Linked DNA regions of Homo sapiens: region 2 is linked to region 1. The links are contacts of gene promoters, found by promoter capture Hi-C in blood cells and fetal thymus (Javierre and others, 2016). All regions are on one chromosome and are shown on one strand. The core of a region is centred on a gene start or on the middle of the fragment in contact, and the rest is flanking DNA. Distances in the headings are between cores, read along the strand shown.

Region 1 (3,416 bases), core at 747-3,246:
AATGATCAGTTATTGCTTCAAAAGCCTTATGAAGATACAAAAATGGGGAAAAGCTGATGCTAGAAAAGGGGAAGAGATGCCTGCTCACTTCAGACACTATGCCATCTGGAGTGAGTTCCCTCTTATTTTATTCCTCTCCTTTTTGCTGAAAATCCTGCCCATCTCTGGAGATAGCTCAAGCTCTACCTCTTCCACAGAGATGGTCCGTGTTATTGCAGCCCACACACATCTTGCCAGTGGGAACAATTCCTGTAAAGTTTAACTGGGTACACCAACATACCTCATAAATATTTATAACATTCTCTTGTTTTATACTAATTTCTTGAGGTCCTCCTTCTTCTACTTTGTAATTTTTTAAACCTCATGCAATGCTTAATAACACTTAAAGTGTGTATTAGAAGTGTGACCATTAGCCATTCTGCCCAGGCTAATAAGGTGCACAAATGACATCACAAACCCTTCAGAGTCTAAAATGAAGCGGCTCACAGATCTGTGCAAGTTCTCCAGCTAAGTCCATATCTTCTTAAGCTGAGTCAGAGGTAAAAATTGGAGAAAAATCAGCTTCTGTCAAATAGGCAAGGGGAAGATCCTGGGAATATCATCTGCCATTTTTGGGCTCCAGTGTCCCTCCGTGGCTAAGAGGACTATCGGGAATCAGATTGCCTAATTCTAAGTCCCAGCCACACTCCTATGTAAATCAGTTAACCAATCTGACCCTCAATTTCCCCGTATGCAAAACTGATGGTGTCTATGACATCAGGTTGTGGCCAAAATAAAGTGAGATACTGCAGTCACAGAAAAAATTAGCACAGCGCCTATAACATTAGGCACTTTTGATATAAGATAACAACATTGACAGCTTATCTATAAAATGTGTGAGCTGACCTAGGTTATCCTTAAGATCTCTTCTCGCTCATATTCTATGCCCCTGTAAGAATAGGGACCAGAAATGTCAGAAAGGAGTGTCCCCTCCAGCCATCCCTTGAACAAATGACAGCCTCTAGGAGGCAATTCTTTGATGATTAGCAGGACGGGAGGCTACGCGGCCTGGGCCCTGTCCCCGTTACAGGGTGTCTCCCTTCACCTTCACCACCGCCACCCCTTATGCCAGCATTGTCTGAGCGCCTACTGGGTGCCGGAACCAGCCTCGGCCCTTGGAGGCTCACACGGACGGGGAGGGGGCAGGCAACACTCACTTGTTCCTGCGGATCCACTCGATGAGGGCGCGCACCTCGGGCACCTCGTCCAGGGCGGGGGGTTCGCCGGTGCTAAACTGGTCGGGAAAGCTTCGGTTGAGGTCGCGGCCGCGACTATTGTCGCGGCCGCTGGCCCCGGACGGGCCGCCGTCGCCGAAGCCACAGTCGCCCTCGCGGGCACGCTCGAAGCCATCGGGGTTGAGGCTGGGCAGCAGGTACACGTCGGTGGTGTTGAGCAGGCGGACCAGGCGCGGGTCCCCGCGGCGGTAGCCGGCCGCCAGCTCGCGGGCCAAGTAGATCAACACCTGGCGCGACACGGTCTCGTCGCCATGCATGTTGCCCACCAGCTTCACCTGGGGCCGGCCGGGCAGCAGCGGCCCCGCAGCGTCGGGCCCGGCAGCGTCAGGCCCCGCGTCGCCCTCAGGGATTAGCGACCCCAGGCCGGCGGTGAGGCGAAGCACCCACAGCGGCCGGCCTTCCACCGAGCGGCCGATGCTAAAGAGGCGGGCCAGGCCGGGGAGGCCCGCGGCCGCCGCCTCCCTCAGCGCCGACTCCAACTCCTCTTCGTGGTAGTAGCGGTCGAACTGGCCCTCGGCCGCCTCGGCGCCCGCGCTCGTAGTTGTGGTAGTCGCCTCCGCCTTCTTGATGTGAGCCGCCCGGGCCGAGCTCCCCAGCAGCAGCAGGCACATGAGCAACAGGAGCCGCCCTAGCCGCCAAGGCGGCCGCTCGTCCCGGCCGCTCGCCATCTTCCAGCAGCGCCGCTAACCCCGGCTCCGCTCCCGCGGCTCAGCGCTCCGGGCGGCGGGGGCCCGCCGGATCCCCTCCTCGCCTAGCAACCCCATCCCGCCCTCTGGCCGCAGCCAATCGCGGACGGGCCTGGTGGAGCGTCACCACCAGGGGGCGGGGCTTCCCTTAAAGCAGCCGATTCCCTCTGGGCGGGCCTGCCCTCCTCCCGTCCGGGACGAGTTTGGTCACTCTCTTCCTTCGCCAAGGTTCTTCTTCTCTTCTCCTCCTCCTTGTTTCGTCTTCTGCGTGTGCTCCGCTTCTCGCTTAGTCTCTTCTTTATGGCTTCTCCCCTAAATTATCACCCATTTTTCTCTGAGAACTCCTGCTAGTTCTCTTCCCATCTTTGTTGCTGCCTTTCTCAGCTGCGCTTTAATGCTTAGAACCGAGAATGGAAAGAATCAAAAGGTTCGAAAGAATCATAAGACTAGAAAAAATCAATAGGTTCGAAAGAATCTTCGTTCGGACACTCAAAGCCTTAGCCCAGTCTCCTAGGCGCCTTGTCTCCGCATCCACCCCGCCTCCGCTGGAGCCCCGCTGTCCGCGTGCGGTTGCACGGGACGCCTCGTGGGGAGGAAGGCTCGCACCTCACTAGGCGGTGCATTCATTTTTAGAGTTGCTTTCTGGAAAGGTGTCTCTTTTATGCCTAGCGGAAATGTGCTACGTAGTAGGCTCCCTTTGTGTTAATGTTGTCTATTTCTTAGGCGTCACCCCACGTTGTTTTACTGCAAATAGGTCCCTGTGTGTGCTGGCCTCGACCCTCATTAGGCAGATTTCATTTCACAGCTCACCGGCCCACTTCTCCCACCTCATCGGAGCAAGTTGTATATTTAACTGTGCCCTGGAATGACATATTTTAAAACAGCAGGTTTGACATTTCTGGAAACACTTGCTTGGCATTCCTGAACTCCTCAGTGTCAGCCAAAGATGGCAATTACAGCGTTTCATCAAGTCTAGAGAAGAGGTCTTTTAAATCACCTTTTATAGGCTTTAGTTTCTTTAGCTTGAAGAAACCCAAAACTATCCCTTAATCGAATGCGAAATTCTACCCATCTAACAACATAATCGCAATAACCGGCATTACCTTCTTTCAGAGCCAGCTATTTCAGGGCCCCTTCCCTGAACTATGACTGAACCCTACTTTAATAGAGTTCATTCATTCGTCAAGTATTTATTGAGCAACTTTTATGTCAAAGCTAGATGCTGGGAAACAATTCATTCTTCTGCCCAGTCAAGAGATTCAGTGTAGTTTGTGATAAATGCTACAACAGAGGGGGTACAGGTGAGGGAAATATCTGAACTTGAGGAGGAGGAAAGGAGGAGAGAAACCATGGAGGATGGGAAGGATCCCAGGCAGGAGGAGAAGCAAGCAAAGAAAGCCGCAGGATTTGAGAACAAATGCCTTGTGTTCTGGGAATTGCATGCAGGGTCAGGATT
Region 2 (3,687 bases), core at 977-3,476, 250 kb after region 1:
GGTTTCTTTTCTTTTCTTTTTTTTTTTTTTGAGACAGTCTCGCTCTGTCGCCCAGGCTGGAGTGCAGTGGTATGATCTCAGCTCACTGCAAGCTCTGCCTCCCTGGTTCATGCCATTCTCCTGCCTCAGCCTCCGGAGTAGCTGGGACTACAGGCGCCCGCCACCATGCCCGGCTAATTTTTTGTATTTTTAGTAGAGACGGGGTTTCACCATGTTAGCCAGGATGGTCTTGATCTCCTGACCTTGTGATCCGCCCGCCTCGGCCTCCCAAAGTGCTGGGATTACAAGCGTGAGCCACCGCGCCTGGCCTTGCACTGGTTTCTTTATATAGAATCTACTCATGGTGACGACGTGAGCATTGTTGAAATGACAACAAAGAATTTAGATTATTACATAAACTTAGTTGATAAAACAGCAGCAGGATTTGAGAGGACTGACTCCAATTTTTAAAGTTCTACTGTGGGTAAATGCTATCAAACAGCATCACATGTTACCGAGAAATAATTCATTAAAGGAAGAGTCGATCAATGCAGCAAACTTCATTTTTGTCTTAAGAAATTGCTACGGCCACCCAGCCTTCAGCAAACATCACCTGATCAGTCAGCAGCCATTAACATTGAGACAAAACCCTCCACCAGCAAAAAGATTATTGCTGGCTAAAGGCTCACATGATCATTAGCATTTTTTAGCATAAAGTATTTTAAAATTATGGTATAGGCATTTTTTTAGCTATAATGCTATTACACACTTTAAAAACTACAGCATAGCATAAACATAACTTTTATATACACTAGGAAACAAAAAACTTACATGACTTGCTTTACTGAGATATTTACTTTATTGCAGTGGTCTGGAACCATACCCACAATATCAGTGAGGTATACCTGTGTATCTTTGAACTATCATTTCCATCTCTTCCTCTCTCTCTTCCCTGTCAAACTCTTCAAAATAAGATTACTAATTAAATTTTAAAAGTTACTATTCAGATGAGAGGACAATAAAAGACAGAGAAACTGTAGAGCTAAAGAAAATATATTGAAGACTAAAATAACACCAATAGAGCTAATAAATTAGAAACAGTAAGAAACAGAAAAGCTATAACTGAAACACTGACAAAAGTTTAATCTTAGTAGAGAGAAAAAGACATAGACTGAGTAATTTCCCTAAATACCTGTTTAATTTTCCTTATCCTGCTCTACTTTTTCACAGCTCTGTAATCTTCTAAATTCACATGTAACTTACTTATCTGTTATGTTAATTACTTATCACCCCCCACCACCACCACCTTGAGAATATAAGTGCCATAAAGGCAGTGGCTTTTGTTATGTTTCACTGGCACAGGGCAAGTGATCAATAAATATCTGTTGAATGCATTAATAAATGCATGACGATGATATGAAAGACAAAGATGATCCTCCAAAATGATAACCCAGCACATGGATGACAGTAAATTTCAATGAAATGAAGAAAAAGCTAAATATTTAGAGAAAAAGAAACAGTGTATTCCTGGAAAAAACAATTCAACATTATTTGCAGCAAGACACATTGAGTTAAAAAGGCTATATACTCTCCAGTAGTCCAAGCCAATTAAAAAAAGTCTAGAAGTAGGGATAAAAGAAACTATAGTGTTGTACTTCCTCATAAGAACATTAAGTACCAGAAAAAATCACTAATGTCTGTAAGATTTTGAAATAAATTGTTATTGTAGAAATATTACACCCAATCAAGTAGATATTTAAGTGACAAAAGCAATGGGCAAGCATTATTTAACAATCAAAAACTTAAGAAATAATGCCCCAATGAGCACATGTTGAAAAACTATGAAATTAAGTCAAAGACCTCAGAAATGGAAAACAATGGTTAAAAAGACTAGTGGACGCTGGGCATAGTGGCTCACACTTCTAATCCCAGTACTTTGAGAGGCTGAGGCAGGAGGATCATTTGAAGCCAGGGGCTCCAGAACAGCCTGGGCAACATAGTGAGACTCTGTCTCAACAAAAAAATAAAAAAAAATTAGGCAGGCATGGTAGTGCATGACTGTAGTCTCAGCTACTTGGGAGGCTGAGGTGGGAGAATTGCTTGAGCCCAGGAGGTTGAGGCTACAGTGAGCTGTGACAGAGCCACTGCACTCTAGCCTGGACAACAGTGAGTCCCTGTCTCAAAATGAAATATTTTAAAAAAGAAAAAGAAAAATAAGGAGGACAGAATTTTCTTGCCATCTCCCCACTTCTAATAGAATTGTCTTAGTTCCATCCTTTTCCTTTTCTCTCTTCTTGCTTTTTCACTCTTAGCCAGTATGTTAAGGATGAAATTTTAGCAAATTGCAAAATTACTTTAAATCCCTCACTGTTTGATATACTCGGTACCATAAATTTACTAGTAATTCAGTTTAATAGCATATGAGAAAAGTTCACAAATTCTCAGCCATCATTAAAATAACCTAAATTTCCCAACATTTTCACAATATGCTTTGTCTTATCTATGTACAACTGTCTTTTTATTTGAACTATACTAGACTATATCTACAGAAGTAAGGCATTATCTGATTAAAACTGATGAAAAACCACAACTAAAACATTTTATTGATTTGGATGTACTATAATGTTCAGACAGATTAAAATTTTAACTTTTTCTTACCAATAGTAAGCCAAACAGGCTTCCAGCTAAAATAAGATTAATTTTTCATTAGGAAAACCAAACCTTCAACTTACTTTTTCAAGAAAATTTTTAAAAAGATTAAAGAGGAGAAATATCAAGAAATAGTGAAAGGAATGGAAGTGTATACACTTATGTAATCCTGTAACTTGCTAATGCTTCTTACTTTGGGAATACACAATTATGGTTATCTTTTTTTTTTTAAGCACTCACTTCCTTGTATTCGTCAAAATTATAACAAAATAATAATATGATTTTGAAAAAAAACTCACACTACCATGCTAAAAAGTAATCATTTTCATTTATTATTTTTTACTTATCTGTGCACCTATAGCATTGTACAACCCTAAGTATTCAATTTTGTATCCTTATTTCATCTACCTCATGCTTTTAAAATGTCCCAATATTTTCTCTCCTAGTCTTCTATCAGATAAAATGTGTTATATCTTTTTACATTTTAATATGATTTGGAAACTAAATACACTATGGGAAATCCTTAAAATTCACCATAATTTTTCTTAAAAAATAGTTGAAAATACAGAAAAGTATAAAAAAAAAAATCATGCCAGGCGTGGTGGCTCACACCTGTAATCCCAGCACTTGGGGACACCAAAGCAGGAGGATCACTTGAGGCCTGGAGTTCAAAATGAGCCTGGGCAATATAGCGAGACCCCCATCTCTACAAATTAAAAAAAAAAAAACAAAAAAACCACTCATTGTCTGCCATACAAAGATAACTACCATTAATATGAAATGCTTTATTGTCTTTTTTCCTTTTATCTATAACAAATTTGTATATATTTTTTCACTAAATGTTATTTCATGATGAATGTGATAGCCGTAGTATTGCACACACTTTACTTACTCATGCTTTCACTGTTGAAAGCTGGACTGGTCTTAAATTTTTACGATCATAAAGAGACCCAAGATAAATGCTTTTGAATACCTAAAAATATATTATATCAATTTCTGACAATTCCAAGACAAAATTTTAGAAAAGAAAATATTGGCAAGGTTTCTGTCTCCTGACTG

Evidence for each region. The method cuts DNA at HindIII sites, captures the fragments that hold promoters and counts their contacts. A CHiCAGO score of 5 or more calls a contact.
Region 2: a contact is called between a fragment that was not itself captured here and the fragment with the promoter of CPD in region 1, in 1 of 17 cell types (total CD4 T cells). The highest score is 5.6, in total CD4 T cells.

The regions. Positions count from the first base shown.
Region 1 is chr17:30,377,507-30,380,922 of GRCh38, reverse strand. It overlaps CPD (carboxypeptidase D), which reads right to left and starts at 1,996. Exons shown (of 21, transcript NM_001304.5): 1 at 1,197-1,996. The coding sequence starts at 1,942. RefSeq lists silencers at 1,521-1,650, 1,951-2,190 and enhancers at 1,168-2,095, 2,241-2,410. The HindIII fragment of the contact is 3,432 bases long and covers 1,289-3,416 here.
Region 2 is chr17:30,128,589-30,132,275 of GRCh38, reverse strand. The region is part of intron 2 of NSRP1 (nuclear speckle splicing regulatory protein 1); the gene reads right to left. Among named protein-coding and RNA genes, the nearest start is that of MIR3184, 13 kb to the right of the region's middle. The HindIII fragment of the contact is 7,104 bases long and covers 1-3,687 here.